5 separate regions of the Homo sapiens genome follow, and all the other regions are linked to region 3. Evidence: promoter capture Hi-C in 16 types of primary human blood cells and fetal thymus (Javierre and others, 2016). All regions are on one chromosome and are shown on one strand. The core of a region is centred on a gene start or on the middle of the fragment in contact, and the rest is flanking DNA. Distances in the headings are between cores, read along the strand shown. Region 1 holds the start of SNED1 (sushi, nidogen and EGF like domains 1). Region 2 holds the start of MAB21L4 (mab-21 like 4). Region 3 holds the start of PASK (PAS domain containing serine/threonine kinase). Region 4 overlaps SEPTIN2 (septin 2). Region 5 holds the start of UICLM (up-regulated in colorectal cancer liver metastasis).

Region 1 (2,700 bases), core at 10-2,509, 150 kb after region 3:
CCACCAGGTACCAGTGCACCGTGGCCTACTCAGGGCGAGTGCTCCATGCAGTTACCAGGTGCATTTCATTCCCTGGGCTGCCATAAGGGCTTGGCCTGGGGTCACACTCTGGGAGCCATGGAGACAGAACCGGCACTCGGGCCTGTTCCTTCAGCTGAGCTGAGCCTGCTGTCATGAGTCCCTGGCCCCAGGAGTCCCACTGGGAGTCCTGTTTGGAGAGTCTGAGCCTGAGCGGCCAGCCCCCAGACTGCGGAGAGGACGGCAGGGAGGGGCAAGCCTGTTGCTAGCCCGCCTAGGAGGGTCAGCGAAGAAGCAGGCCCTGCCCTGAGCGCCTGGGCAAGGGGTCCAGCCTCCTGGCTCTGGGCCGCACTGGCGTCCACGGGGGGCGGGGCTGAAATGGCCCAAGGAGGGGCTGCAACCTTCGCAGGCCCGGCGCCCCACTTGGGAAACTGAGGCCCGGGAAGCCCGTGCCCACGGCCACATTGCCATGTGTGAAAACCAGGGCAGTACCAGGACCCCTGCTCTCCCCTGGGAATCAGGCGCCGGGAAGACGCGCTCGGCAGGTCTGGCAGGGGCCGGGGCGCCGCGCTCCACTCGCCCCCGCCTCGGTGCCCGGCGGCTGCCGCCCCCGCCCCGCCCGCGCGCCTCTCCCGCGGGCCGCTGTCCGGCCTTGGCCGCCGAGGAGGAAGCGCTGTCCTCATTCCACCTCGGGCCGCCCCGGTGCCAAGTGGCTGGCGGCGGCGGCGGGAGTCCGGGCCCGGCGGGCAGCGGCCGGGGCGCAGCTCCCTCCCCTCCCGGGCGCCCCGCGAGCCCGGGGGTTACTCACGTAGAGTCCGGAGTGCTCGGCACCGAAGAACGGGAAGGGCACCGAGAGCGGCCGCAGCCCCGAGCCGCCGTCGTCCTGCTTGGGGGTGACGGCGTCGCCGCGCTCGGCGCCGAACGGGTAGAAGTCGGCAAGGGCCACCGCGCCGCGCACCCCGCGCGCCCCAAGCCCCAGGGCCGCGGCCACCAGCAGCGCCCAGGCGACGCCGTGCCGCATCGCGGAGGTGTGCGGGCGGGACGGGGCGCTGGCGGAGCAGGGCGCTGGGGGACTAGGCTGCGCGCGGGGGTGGCCGGCAGGGCCAGGCGGGGTGCGGGGAGCGCGGGCGCGCCCGCTGGCCGCGCCGTCGGGGGCTCCGCGTCCCGCGCCCGTTCGGCCGGGCCGCGCTCTCGCCGCAGCTCCGCAGAGGAAAGCGCCGGGCGGGACCGCGTTCGGGGCCAGCCCCGCCCCTGGGGCCACGATTTAAATATCCAGCCCGGCGGTCACTCGGGGGGGCGGGGCCATGCAAATCGGGCGTCTCTTAAAGCGCCAGGCCCCGTGGGAGGGCGCGGGCGCGCGGGGAGCTCAGTCCCCTGGCGTGGGCACAGGCAAGGTGAGGGCTCTGCGGGCGCGCGCCCTGTGGTGGGGCCATGCTCCGCCCTGGGTCCCTACCCTGGTGGAGGCGCCTGGGCCCTCAGTGCCGTCCTGGGACAGACCTGTGTCCCTAAGGCCTGAGACGCTGGGCCCGCCCTGAAGGCGTGTCATCACGCGGGGGGCGGGAGGGGACCCTGGCCAGGCAGTGCCTGAATGAACCCGTTCCGTGCTGCCCCCTTCCCAGCCCTGAGCATGGGGACGCCAGGCTTCCAGCCACAGGGGCAGACTAACCCCGGAGCCCACTCCCTGCCTGGGTCTGTGTGAGGAAGAGCCCGGGCCGGAGACTAGGAGGCATGGAACAAAGTGTTTGCATCTGCGTGGCCGCATCAGGAGAAATTCCTGGGAGGCTCGGGACCTCGGGGCGACCCCTGGGTAAAGCAAACCCTCCGTGGGGAAGACTGACCCACTCAGGCCCTGGGGGCAAGTGCGTGCATGACACCGGCCTTGGCAGGTGGGGGCAGGACTCTGAGTCCCAGTATTTGAATTCAGGGTCCCCACCCTGTGGCCTGCCAGCCCTGCCCCCTGTCTCTTGGGCTGCTGGCCTGGGCTGCCTGTCTGTCCTTCCTCAGGGCCTCAGCCGGGACCACCTCTATGTCCCCAGGCCCATGGCAGGGTCTGATTCCTGGAACTCACCCGGCCCACCGTGGTCTCTTCTCTTAGATCCTGGTGTTGGGTGGTGTTGGCTGCGTGCCACACTGGGGCCCCCAAAGATAAGAGTGCACCCCTCGAAGACAAGCAGGAAAGGCCGGGCTGATGGTAACTGCATCTACCACTGAGGTGCTGGGTGGTTTTTTGTTTGTCTTTGCGTTTGTATCTTCTGAAATATCTCAAGTGAGCACGTGTTGTTTTTCAGTGAGAGCCAGGCACAGTCAATGTTATTTTTAAGAAGCAGCGGAGGGTTCTCTGCGTGTGACTGGGTGTTGCCGGTTCTCACAGATCCTGCACTTGGTGTTTTCACTCAGAGGTTCATGACCCTTTAGACTTGGTGTCAGGGCCGGGTGCAGAATTGTTAAGGAGGAGCTGACCCTGCACTGGCACCTCCTGAAAGCTTGCCCCTGGCGCCTCTCCCACCCTGCATGGGGTGGCAATTCTGTTTGCAGAGAGGCAAACTGGGCCTGGGAGGGGAAGGGCTCTGTCCCGCAGTTAGCCCTTAGGTCACCGTCCCAGCTTTCAGAGCTCCAGGACAGCAGCACAGCCATGGTTCCAGGGCCAGAAAGGTCAAGGCCTCCTGTCTTTGGAGGGAGGCA
Region 2 (2,700 bases), core at 133-2,632, 250 kb after region 3:
GCAGCGTCCACCTCCCCCAGGCCAGAGTCCTGTGGAGATGGAGGAGTGTGGCACACGGCTGTGTGTGGGGACCTAGGCAGGCCGTGGGTGAGGGCCCAGGACAAATGGGGCCTTGAACCTGAATGGCTGCCCTCGGGGAGGGGGACACGTGCTCTAAGCAACTCCAGGGAACAGGAGTGGGCCAGCTTGGAGGAGGGATATCTGTCTCTCGCTTGACCGTGGGCTACCCTGTGAGGTGGTGAGCTCCCTGTCCTGGGAGGCATGGAAGCAGAGACCCGCTCACTGGGCTGCAGCCCCTCATAGGGGCTTCCAAGCACCAGGAAGTGAGTGGCTGTTGCCCCCTGCCCCACCCCTCCTGGGATCCTGGTTCTGCCCACAGCTCTGACTCAGATGCAGCTCCCCGGGGGGTGAGAGGCCCACGTGCGGTGGCTACAGGGGCAGCATCTCCACGACGCCCCTGTGGGGCCATCTCCATGTTCACTGTTTGCAGACACCCCTGTGGCTGAGCACCCGATGCACTCGGCCAGCTGGCAGGGCCAAGGGTCGATGGGGCGGCTCCCTGCTGGTTGGGACTTGCACGGCCCTGAGCAGGGGAGGGGGGCGGGGCTGGCAGGGTACCTGGTGCAGGTGCTGGAGGGGGATGGTGGGGCGAGTTTCTCCACCTGGGTGAGGTGGAGCCACGGAGACTGCTTTTCTCCAGAACCAGACGAGCTCCAGCTCCCAGGCTAGGTGGGTGCCAGCTCCTCTCAGGTTGGAGGCTGGGCAGGGTGGGGTGGGGTGGGGTGGGGACTGGTAGCCCAGGGGTCCAGGGCCCAGATGGCTGGATGCACAGCTGGGGCAGAGGCAGGAGCCATGCCAGGACTGCAGCCTGTAAGCCGGGCACAGGTGTCTGAGGGGAACATTGCAGAGACGCAGCCTCCAGGTTCCCAGCCTTCCAGGCAGCCTTAGAGAGTCGGGGGCTCCCCCACAGCGGGGTCTGGGCAGCCACCGCCCTGCCTCCCCTTCCTCACTGAGCCACGGGGTGCCTTGTGTTCCCTCCAACCTGGCAGGGAGGCTGGGGCAGGGGGGCCTGATCCAGATACCCGGCCCCTGGGCTGTGGGGAGGAGGGTGGAAGGAGGCCCATCAGCAACACACAGAGGCTCCCATCCCAGGGACGGCACAGTCCAGCGGCAATATTTCTCCAGGGACCCCAAGCCTGGCTGGGACAGGGGCCGTGCCTTGGGCCTAAGATGAGAGAGCTCTTCTGAAGGGAGGGAGGAGGGTGGTAACCAAACCCAGCCCCCGCCTGCCCTGCATGGCCCCTGTGACATTCCCAATTGCTGGGGACTGACTCACCCCCACTTCAAAGGCCTTAAATAGTTCAGCTATTTCACCTGCCACACTGTGCTGTCACTCTGGAATTCTGCTGTGTGGGAGCTGAGGCCCCACCTGCAGACCTGCTGCTCACCTGGGCAGGTGCCTCCTCACAGCCCATCTGCACAGCTGGCCTGCGGAGTCCTCCTCAGGGGCCACTGGCCCTCACCTGCCACTGTTGAAGGGATGCCTGCCCCTGCTCTCCCCACCTCAGCCATGGCCGTGCAGGTGCCCCTGTGGCACCACTACCTGCAGGCCATCCGGTCCCGGGAGGCGCCGCGTGCCCAGGACTTCCAGCGCGCAGAGAACGTGCTGCTCACGGTGCTGGAGCGCGTGCATGCCCTGGACCCCCGCTTCATCGTGGACTACTCCCGTGGCCTGGAGGCCTTCCAGTTCGCCCTGCGCTCCTCTGAGGACCCAATGGACATGGAGGTGCCCCTGTGGGTGGATGCCGAGGCTCTACTGATTGAGGAACCAGAGGCCACCCAGCCGGAGGATGGCCTTGAATTATGCCACCTGGGTGTGCCCAGGGAAGGGGCTGGCCTGGAGCGGTGGACCACCGAGGATACCTTCACTGCCTCCTCGGAGGGTGACGCCAAGTGCCGTGGACACATTGTGCCCAGCAAGGTCCTGTGTGTCCTCAAGGACCTGCTGGTAGCAGCCATCGTACACTGCAAGCACCACAGTCTCATCGCACCAGGTACAGGCACAGCCCACTCTGCACGCGTATCTGCGTGTACCGAGGGGCTGCTGTGTGGGTGTCTGTGTGCAAGTGTGTGAGTGCACATGTGTGTGATTGCCATGTACGTGCACACAGGGTGGCGACTGTCTTCTGTGTGTGACTGCACGCACAGGCATGTGTGCACGTGTGTGACACTGTGCAAGTGTGAACAGTGTGTTGGGGCACAGAAGTCGGGAGACCTCACTTAGGTCTTCCAGCTCCAAATGCCTGTAACAAGACAGATGACGTGTTCCGTGTCGTGTGTGTTTGCACGGGGGTTCCACGGCTGCCAGTCGTCCAGTGGCTGGAGTCTGGGGCAGCTGCTTCACTGGTGGCCTTGCAGGAGGGTCCCTCACACGGCTCTGGGCAGGCGGCTCTCTTGCCAGTCACAGCCTGTGACCTCGAGGCTCCCCGAGGCCATCCCGTGCCCACTTCCAGTGTCTGATGATGTTGCACCAGGTGGGAGGGGTGTGTGTGTGCCTGCCTGCGTGCGCGTGAGTGCAGGGGTGTGAATGCGTGTGCAGGTGTGTGCCCGTGTCTTATCAGCTTATGGCTGAGTTGTCTATTGGTGTCTTGAGCCCCAAGTGGGCTCTGAGGCTGGGCTTCTGCGTGGACCAGGGGCTGG
Region 3 (2,700 bases), core at 72-2,571:
TGGCCTCGCGCCGCCGCTCTCCCCCTAGCTCTGGGTCCTTCCCGGCCGCTGCCGCCCCCGGGCCGGGGCTCCCCCGAGGTCCAGCGCCTCCCCCGCTCCCCCGGGTCCGGCTGTCAGCTGTCAGGGGGCCGCGCGGCGGCGGCCAGAGGCAGGACGTGGAGTTTCTCTCAGGCACGGAGCAGTTCCAGCCCGCAGCTCCCCCCGCCCGCTGGGCCCTTGGGCCGCCGCCCGCAGGGGCCGCTCACCCTCCATCATCTCCTGCGACTGTTGCTGCCCCGCGCCGCGTTCCGCCGCCATGTTGGCTGCTCTTCCCCTTTCCGGAATCTGTCGCCTCAGACCCCTCAGCCAATCAGGGCTCCCGCCTCAGAGCCGGCCCTGCCAATGGGATTCCGGCGCGGCGACTTCAGCCGCGCCGCGCCTGCGTGGGCCCAGCGCCTCATGGGAGTTGTAGTTCCGTCATGAGGCCGCGCGCCGCGCCTCCCCCAGAGCAGGTAATTTCAGGCGGCGGAGCCGGAACAGTCTGGAGGCGAGAAGCTGGGAAGGAAAGCAGAGGGAGTCGAAGCGGGACGCACAGAGCCGTAGCTGCAGGCAGACGGAGTGGACGTCTAGGCAGAGTGGAGAGACGCCCTGGGCTTGAGAGTTGACTTATGTCACTGTCTCGACCTCGGAGGCGTGGAGGGGCCGCGGGCCAGGCGGATCTTTCCGTGGCTGCAAGGTGCGGGCCAGTCCTACGTGCATCCCTGACCTCTGCGAGCCTCGCTGGCTGCGTCTGTACAATGGGCCGAACGGCAAGAGCAACAACATTCTCCCGGCGTCCCCGCGCGGATTTTACCCATGCGAAATGCCGCCTTCTCTTGACGCTCGGAGCAGGCGGGCAGGTGCGGGGCACTTGCGCTGGTGGGGCCGCTAGCCAGCTGGCTGGCTCCGGGGCGCCAGCTGGGCTCCCCTTGCAAGTCGTTCCCAGCCCAGTGCGGACGCTGCAGCCTTCGTCTACCCTGCGGAGCCACCCGGCCCATGAACGAGCCGCCCCGCGTCCTCCGCCTTCAGAAAGAGGCCTCCAAGAGGCGAGCTCTGCGCTACTCACCCATTTTGATCGCGAGTCGGGAGGAAACCGCATCTGCCCGGCCCGGGGGCGGAGGCGCCCATTATTCCTTTGGCTCCTCCGAAGCGCCGTAGGGGTGTTTGGTGCGTCCCTAGCAACCCTTAGCGCGGGCTTCTAGACTCTGGCTAGCTTAGTCCCGCCCATACGCGCAAGTGGCTGGTCCGTGGAGCTTGTCAATCGGTGCTAGTCGCTGTGCGATTGGTCGGTGGGATAAAAGCGCGGAAGGGCTCCTTTCCGTGGTGTGTAGCCGGCTTGGCGTGACCCTCGCCTGATCCAGGTGAGATACCTGCGCTCGGGAGAGCGGGCCGGGCTCCGCCATCTCCCCAGGGCGGCTGTGGGGCCTGCGCGGCTCCGCGCCCCTGGCCCAGGAGGATCCGCCGCCCGACTCTTAGACCAGCCCGACCCCGGGTCTCCCGCCCCTGCGCCCGTCGCCCTTCGCGCACCGCCGAGCCCGCGTCCTCTCCGTGCCCAAATCGCGGCGGGGTTGCGGCCGTTGGCCCTGGGCCCCGCGCCCCCAGCGTCTTCGGGGTGCCCTTCAGTGTAGCCTGCCCGGTGGGCGCCGAGGCCCCGCGCCTCGGGTCGCCTCGGGACCCTGCGCTCTCTTCACCGCAGCCGGCCCTGCGGGGCGAGCTCCAGGAGAACCAGCCCGGATCCCGCCAGCCTCCTGCACTGGGCGTGTGGGTCCCTGCGGGCTCAGCCGGCGCCGCGGGGTCGGGGGCGCGCGCCGCCGGCGCTCGTGGTTACAGCAAAGACCTGGACTTGAGCCTTAATTTTTTCACTAATTTTTCTTTCCCAGAGTACGGCAGGGGCCTGCGCTGCCGTCTTGAGGCCTTTCTCGTCCTTACCTTCCGCATCTCAGTACCATTCGATGTCCATTTTTCTCTTAGGGGTTCCCTCTCTTCATCTTTCTGCTGCTACCTTAATTTAAGACTTTATAATTTCTTGCCTGGATTACTGTAGCCTTTCTCCTGCTTTCCAGCCTTGCACCGACATGGTCCCTGGAGTAATCTTTGTAAAATGCATATCTGGCCATGTTACTCCTAAGCATTGAATCCTTAAAAGTTCATTTTGGGGATAAAATTAAGACTTTGGGCAGGCATAGGAGGCTCTGGGCTCATGCTTGGCCCTTCCAGGCCCACGTCCACCTACTCTTCTGGGTACTGAACTCCTCTCTGGGAGGCTTTGCCTCTGAAAGACTTCTTCACTCTGCTTGGTAGGGCCCGGCTCTGCAGGTGCCTCCTCCAGGACTGACATCCTTGCTGTGTTCTACTGCACTGTTCACCTTGTTGGCCTCATCCTGAAACTGGTTCTCCTTTTTGTTGTACAGCTGTGCTGACAGCAATGGGAGCTGTTTGCTTCTTAGCTTATGTTCTGGTGGGAGGGGGACAGTTGCTTCTAGAAGTTCGCCGAGATGCTCCCTGCAAAGTTGTCCTTGCTTCTGTTTGGTCTGAGGTGGGGTCACTTGTGTCTTCTGGAATCAAAACTAGCAATGGGAATATGGTTACTCGGTGGCACCATTAGGTGCTGTCTGCTGGGTTTGGGTTCCCGTGTCTGCAGCTCACAGTGGATACAAAGGACAATTTTAAAAATTTGGGCCT
Region 4 (2,700 bases), core at 181-2,680, 200 kb before region 3:
AAGCTTAGAAAATAACCTGCAAATGTACCCCAATAAAATAAAAGTTGAAATTATTTAAAAAAAAAAGAAGAGACAAAAATATGAAAAATCTTTACTAGAAAGTAGGTGGCAAAGTAGTGGCTTCTGTTTTTCAGGAGCAATCTCTCCTTGTTTAAGATTAGTGATGGAGTTACTTCAAAATGCAAAATATTAATGAGGCTTAAGGAGGAACCTGTCATATTTAAGCTGACACAATGTTAGTAACTGCCTGTCTTCCAGGCTAAGGGACAACAGGGCCTACCTCTGACTTCTTGATATGTGCACATCACCTTACACGTGGTGCCCGAGAGCCCCGCCATCGCCATCCCCGCCCTGCATCTGCATCTGCATCTGCGCCTGCATCCTTGCAATCATCTCTTGCATGCGGCGGAGCTGTGAACACACACACACATTATAGGTTTTCAAGGTTTGCTGTCTTTGAACATTATTTCTGGGTGTTCTGTGATTCCTAAAATTTCAACTTCTACACCTTCCCAAAATATGACAGGAGTTATTACATAAAGACTTTTTACCAATCAATAAAAAAAGCAACAGCTAAAGAGAAAATCAAGTAAATGATACGAATATGCAAGCCAAACAGAAACAATAACCAAAGAAAGATAAGACAATATGATAAATTTTCTTAAGACAGAGTCTCACTCTGTCTCCTAGGCTGGAGTGCAGTGGCGCAATCTCGGCTCACTGCTACCTCCGCCTCCCGGGTTCAAGCGATTCTCCTGCCTCAGCCTCCTGAGTAGCTGGGATTACAGGCACACACCACCACGCCCAGCTGATTTTTGTATTTTCAGTAGAGACGGGGTTTCACCACATTGGTCAGGCTGGTCTCAAACTCCTGACCTCGTGATCCACCCGCCTCCGCCTCCCAAAGTGCTGGGATTACAAGCGTGAGCCACCGCGCCCGGCCAATATGAGAAGTTTTCTAACCTAAAAGGAGGGAAAGAGACTGATGACAGTGAGAAATGCAAAGTAAAGGGGAATGGGAATGAATCAGCTTTTCTGGAGGGCAATGAAGGCCTCACAATAAAAATAATATATATACATACATATACATATATATATATTTTTTTTTTTTTAAAGGGATGGGATCTTGCTCTTTCACCTAGGCTAGACTGCAGTGGCACAATCATAGCTCACTGCATCCTTGAACTCCTGGGCTCAGGGGATCCTTCTGCCTCAGCCTCCCGAGTAGCTGGGACTACAGGTGCATGCCGACATGCATGGCTAATTATTTTTTAATTTTTTTCTAGAGAACGAGGGGGGTCTCACTCTGTTGCCCTAGCTGGTCTTAAACTCCTGGCATGAAGTGATTCTCCCACCTTGGCCTCCTAAAGTGCTGGGACTATAAGTGTAACCCACAGTGCCTGGCCAAAAATAGTAAATGTTAATTCATCTTTATCCTTATCATTATGATTTGTATGTGTTCAGAAATGCCTCCAGGAAAGTATTATAAAACATTTAAATTTTCTTCAGGTGACTTTGTGGTTATTTTTAACATTTAAATATTTGATCAATATTGAATTAATTTGACCAAAGAAGTATTTTCTTTTTGTTTCCAAAAGGCTAGCCCATTATGATCCTATTGTTTACTGAATAATGTGTTTGCCTTCCAAAACTCCAGCAGATCTGAATGCCACCTTTACAACAGAGCATATTTCCATATTTATGATCTACTTACAAATATCAGTGACATTACTAAATTGTCTCCAAAGTCTTTCAGCTAAATATATGAAGCATCATGTATGCTATGTAAATATCCATGTTTATTATTATATATAGATGTGTATATATAGTAATAAAGTAGTTATATGTATCCTCCTCAACAAATTAAAAAAAAAACTATAAACTTTAAGTTAATTACCAATGATATCTACGGATGTAAACAAAACACCTTCAGTCACAAGAATAGTACTTTTTGGCTGGGCACGGTGGCTCACACCTGTAATCCCAGCACTTTGGGAGGCCAAGGTGGGCAGATCACCTGAGGTTAGGAGTTCGAGACCAGCCTGGCCAACATGATGAAACCCCGTCTCTACTAAAAATACAAAAACAACTAGCCAGGCATGGTGGCGGGCACCTGTAGTCCCAGCTACTCGGGAGGCTGAGGCAGGAGAATCACTTGAACCCGGGAGGCAGAGGTTGCAGTGAGCCGAGATCACGCCACTGCACTCCAGCCTGGGCAATGGTGCAAAACTCTGTCTCAAAACAAACAAAACAACCAACCAACCAACCAACCAATAGTACTTTCCTACTTACCTCAGCTTCTTTTTCCAGCAAGATCTGGTCTTTATTCATGTCCTCATTCTCCACTTTCCTAAGAATCGAAAGAAATCAGAATCATAACACTGCAACAAATAGTTATTTGCTACCCCCCCAAAAAATTCTACTTTAAAATTTAAAATGACATGTATTTATCATTTCTCTTTTTATATTGAGATGGTGTCTCACTCTGTCGCACGGGCTGGAGTGTAGTGGCATGATCTTGGCTCACTGCAACCTCCACCTCCTAGGTTCAAGCAATTCTCCCACCTTAGCCTCCTGGGTAACTGGCATTACAGGCACGTGCTACCACGCCCAGCTAATTTTTTTTGTGTTTAGTAGAGATGGGGTTTTGCCACGTTGGCCAGGCTGGTGTTGAACCTCAAGTGATCCGCCCACCTTGGC
Region 5 (2,700 bases), core at 7-2,506, 180 kb after region 3:
CATGGAATGAAAAGTGGTCTTGGAGCAGGACAGTGTGACCCTATAAAGAGCCCCAAGGCTGGGCCAGGGCCGCCCCATGCCTGCCGCTGTGGCCTCAGCAAGAAGAAAGGGCCTAGACTTGGGGCTCTGCCCCCCACTCGCTGTGCCCCCAGGGCCAAGTCCTCAGTTTCCCCAACCTGTAAAACAAGGGCTAGAACCACCGTAAGGACAGCTCTGCTAAGGACGACCCCAGTCCCGATGACCCCAAAGCCGCCTGCCACAGCCCAGCCTGCACCTCTGCCCCAGGGCCCCACCGGGCTGGCTCCAGCCCCGAACACCCACAGAAGCCCTTGCAGACCCCTCTCTCCCACCTCCCGGCCCTGTGGCCTCCCTGCAGGGTGTGAGGGTGACCGAGAGGCCTTGTTCTTGTGCCCCACCTGGGACCCACCCTGCCGCCTGCCCCACCTGCAGCCGCCGCTTCTCCTGGCCTGCCGCACGCACGCTCGCCAGGTGCTCCAACTCCAGCCTGCGGAGCGCCTCCTTCTGCAGGGCACGTGCTGCCCGGGCGCTGCTCAGCGCGCCCTCCACCCGGCGCTGGCCTGTGGGGCAAGCAGGGTGGCTTGAGGGGCCCCCATGCCCCTCCCAGGTCACAGGCAGGCAATGCAGGGCTCTGTGGACTTGAGTGACTGGCTCCCACGTGGAGGTGGGGGTCCATCCTTGCAGCTCAAGGGTCCTGGGGCTGCCCCAGGGTCCCGGCTTCCCACCCATCCTTCCCTCCTGCCTCTTTCCTTTAATTGAGGGGCAATAAGCAGAGAAACTCGTGAGTGTGAGGCAGTGGGGGGCAGAAGGAAGGGGCCTCTCTGAGGGGGTGACGAGGGGCAGGGCCTGCCCGGGGAGAGCCGTGTGGCTGTCTGGGGGAGAGGGTGCCAGGCAGAGGGCACAGCCAGGGCAAAGGCCCCCAGTGGGAACTGCAGGAGGCCAGGGTGGGGCAGGGGGGCAGAGGATGCTGGGGGCCGGATCGGGAGGGCCCTGATGGGCCTGTGGACGTCACTCCTCTGTGCTGGGGAAGTCGCTGCTGAGAACTCCGATGCCAAGCGCTGACCCAGCCTCGCCAGGCCTGGTGGTTTGGGTGTTGCCCCCAGGCTCCCTTCCCACCGAGCTGCCCCAGGGACTGAAAGCTTATAGCCGGCAGCAGTGGGGACATGGTGGTGCCACTCTCACAGCCACTCCCAGGGTGGGCGGGGCAGGGCAAGGGAGGTCACCTTCTTCCGCCTCAGCCAGGGCTTTCTGCAGCTGCCCCACGCGGCTCTGGGCCCGGGCACACCTGCACTCTGCCTCGCTCAGCCGGCTGCTCAGGGTCGCCATCTGGATGCGGGAGTCATCCTGGGCAGAAGGACTGAGGTCAGCGGGGGCAGTCCAATGGGCGGGTGGAGGGCCAAGGTGTCTGCTAGAGGGTCGGGGCCAGCTGGGGCCGCTCACGGTCTGGCCTGCAGGTGTGCAGGGCAGGGCAGTGGGTGGTGTGGGCCGTGGGCTCGGGGAAGGTGCGGGGAAGGTGATCACACTGGGAAGCTGCGCTGACCTGCAGGCCTGGGGAGGTGGAGGCGCCCAGTGAGACTCGGCCTAAAGGGTCCAGGTTTCAAGCACAGGTGTGGTGTGGGAGAGCTGGCAGGTGGCGGCCCACAGCCTGTGGTCAGGGGGACCGGTAGGGGCTGCCCCTGGCGGGACTTGGGGCTGAGTGCAGACGGGACCCTGCCCCCTGGGGCTGGCAGCGGTGGGAGGGTGGGCCCGAAGGGAAGGAGTGTGCACAGAGGACCCTGGCCAGGGCTCAGGGCCTGCCTCTGTCTTTCCCACAGTCCTGCCCACTGGAGTCATCCAGCGAGGTGGGAGGGGGCCGCTCACGGGTGGTTCTGTGGGAGCCCTGAAGCCAGGAGCAGCCACTGGGGAGCTTGGCCCCACCGGAGGGGTCTTTGGGAGCATTGAGGGGAGCTTGCTGGCTCTGTCCTGCAGTTGCCCAGCCCCGGCAGCTCTTCAGGGGTGGCATGAGTTGCAGAATGCCCTACCCTGGGCCCTGGTGGGTGTCACAGCAGGGCCTGGCTCCAGGGGCTTTTCAGCCTGGTATAAGGAAGGGGGCGGCCTCCAGCCACCCAAGGCACTTGGGCTTGGGGGCCATGGTGGTGCTGGTGTTTATCACAACAAACAGGACGGCCTGGACACTGACCCTCAGACCCAGGGACGCGCGGATGGATGGACAGCAGGTGTTCTTCCCAGAGACCCCCGGGGGGTGCCGCCGTGGGCGGGAGGACCCCAGCCCCCATTACCCGCTCCCGCTGGGCTTCCCGGAGCTTCTGCACAAAGTCCCGCAGGATGTCCTGCACGGTGGCCACATCCATGAGCTCTGAGCTGCGGCCTCCGGGTGTGGGCGAGGGCCATCGGAGGGGCGAGTGGGGCCTGGCTGGGGGGCTGGTACCCTGTTGCCCAGGGAGAGCCTGGGAGCTGTCGGAGCCTGCGGGAGGTGACAGCGGAGGGGTCGTGGACAGGAACACAGTGACAGATACACGCCCTTCCCCTTTCCTCTCTGCTGCCCCAGCCATGGGAGGTTGGGGAGACGGCCACAGGTTCCTACAATTGCCTGTCCGAGTCCCTCACTGTGTGAGTTGTGAGGCCTGAAAGAGAGGTGCCAGGCCAGGGACTGAGCTGGGAGAGGGGCCCGCCTGCCTCCAC

Evidence for each region. Contacts are between HindIII fragments. The CHiCAGO score rates a contact against its expected background, and 5 or more counts as called.
Region 1: a contact is called between the fragment with the promoter of SNED1 here and the fragment with the promoter of PASK in region 3, in 2 of 17 cell types (naive CD4 T cells and non-activated CD4 T cells). The highest score is 6.2, in naive CD4 T cells.
Region 2: the fragment with the promoter of MAB21L4 here is called in contact with the fragment with the promoter of PASK in region 3 in 8 of 17 cell types (naive CD8 T cells, total B cells, non-activated CD4 T cells and 5 more); the score reaches 9.7 in naive CD8 T cells.
Region 4: a fragment that was not itself captured here is called in contact with the fragment with the promoter of PASK in region 3 in 1 of 17 cell types (neutrophils); the score reaches 5.2 in neutrophils.
Region 5: a contact is called between the fragment with the promoter of UICLM here and the fragment with the promoter of PASK in region 3, in 4 of 17 cell types (naive B cells, total B cells, naive CD4 T cells and 1 more). The highest score is 8.4, in naive B cells.

The regions. Positions count from the first base shown.
Region 1 is chr2:240,997,177-240,999,876 of GRCh38, reverse strand. SNED1 (sushi, nidogen and EGF like domains 1) reads right to left here and starts at 1,259. Exons shown (of 32, transcript NM_001080437.3): 1 at 827-1,259. The coding sequence starts at 1,039. RefSeq lists a silencer at 1,208-1,627. The HindIII fragment of the contact is 12,687 bases long and covers 1-2,503 here.
Region 2 is chr2:240,894,838-240,897,537 of GRCh38, reverse strand. MAB21L4 (mab-21 like 4) reads left to right here and starts at 1,382. Exons shown (of 5, transcript NM_001085437.3): 1 at 1,382-2,054. The coding sequence starts at 1,541. RefSeq lists enhancers at 211-846, 2,119-2,700. The HindIII fragment of the contact is 9,523 bases long and covers 1-2,700 here.
Region 3 is chr2:241,148,093-241,150,792 of GRCh38, reverse strand. PASK (PAS domain containing serine/threonine kinase) reads left to right here and starts at 1,321. Exons shown (of 18, transcript NM_015148.4): 1 at 1,321-1,379. It overlaps PPP1R7 (protein phosphatase 1 regulatory subunit 7), which reads right to left and starts at 326. Exons shown (of 10, transcript NM_002712.3): 1 at 246-326. The coding sequence starts at 297. RefSeq lists silencers at 1-244, 1,375-1,734, 1,795-1,854, 1,905-1,954 and enhancers at 535-694, 2,208-2,367. The HindIII fragment of the contact is 12,026 bases long and covers 1-2,700 here.
Region 4 is chr2:241,347,784-241,350,483 of GRCh38, reverse strand. SEPTIN2 (septin 2) reads right to left here. Exons shown (of 13, transcript NM_004404.5): 11 at 2,293-2,350; 12 at 281-411. The coding sequence ends at 310. Among named protein-coding and RNA genes, the nearest start is that of FARP2, 7.2 kb to the left of the region's middle. The HindIII fragment of the contact is 2,849 bases long and covers 6-2,700 here.
Region 5 is chr2:240,966,007-240,968,706 of GRCh38, reverse strand. UICLM (up-regulated in colorectal cancer liver metastasis) reads left to right here and starts at 1,256. Exons shown (of 9, transcript NR_033841.1): 1 at 1,256-1,380. CROCC2 (ciliary rootlet coiled-coil, rootletin family member 2) reads right to left here. Exons shown (of 32, transcript NM_001351305.2): 25 at 2,298-2,482; 26 at 1,242-1,362; 27 at 445-578. The HindIII fragment of the contact is 9,726 bases long and covers 1,160-2,700 here.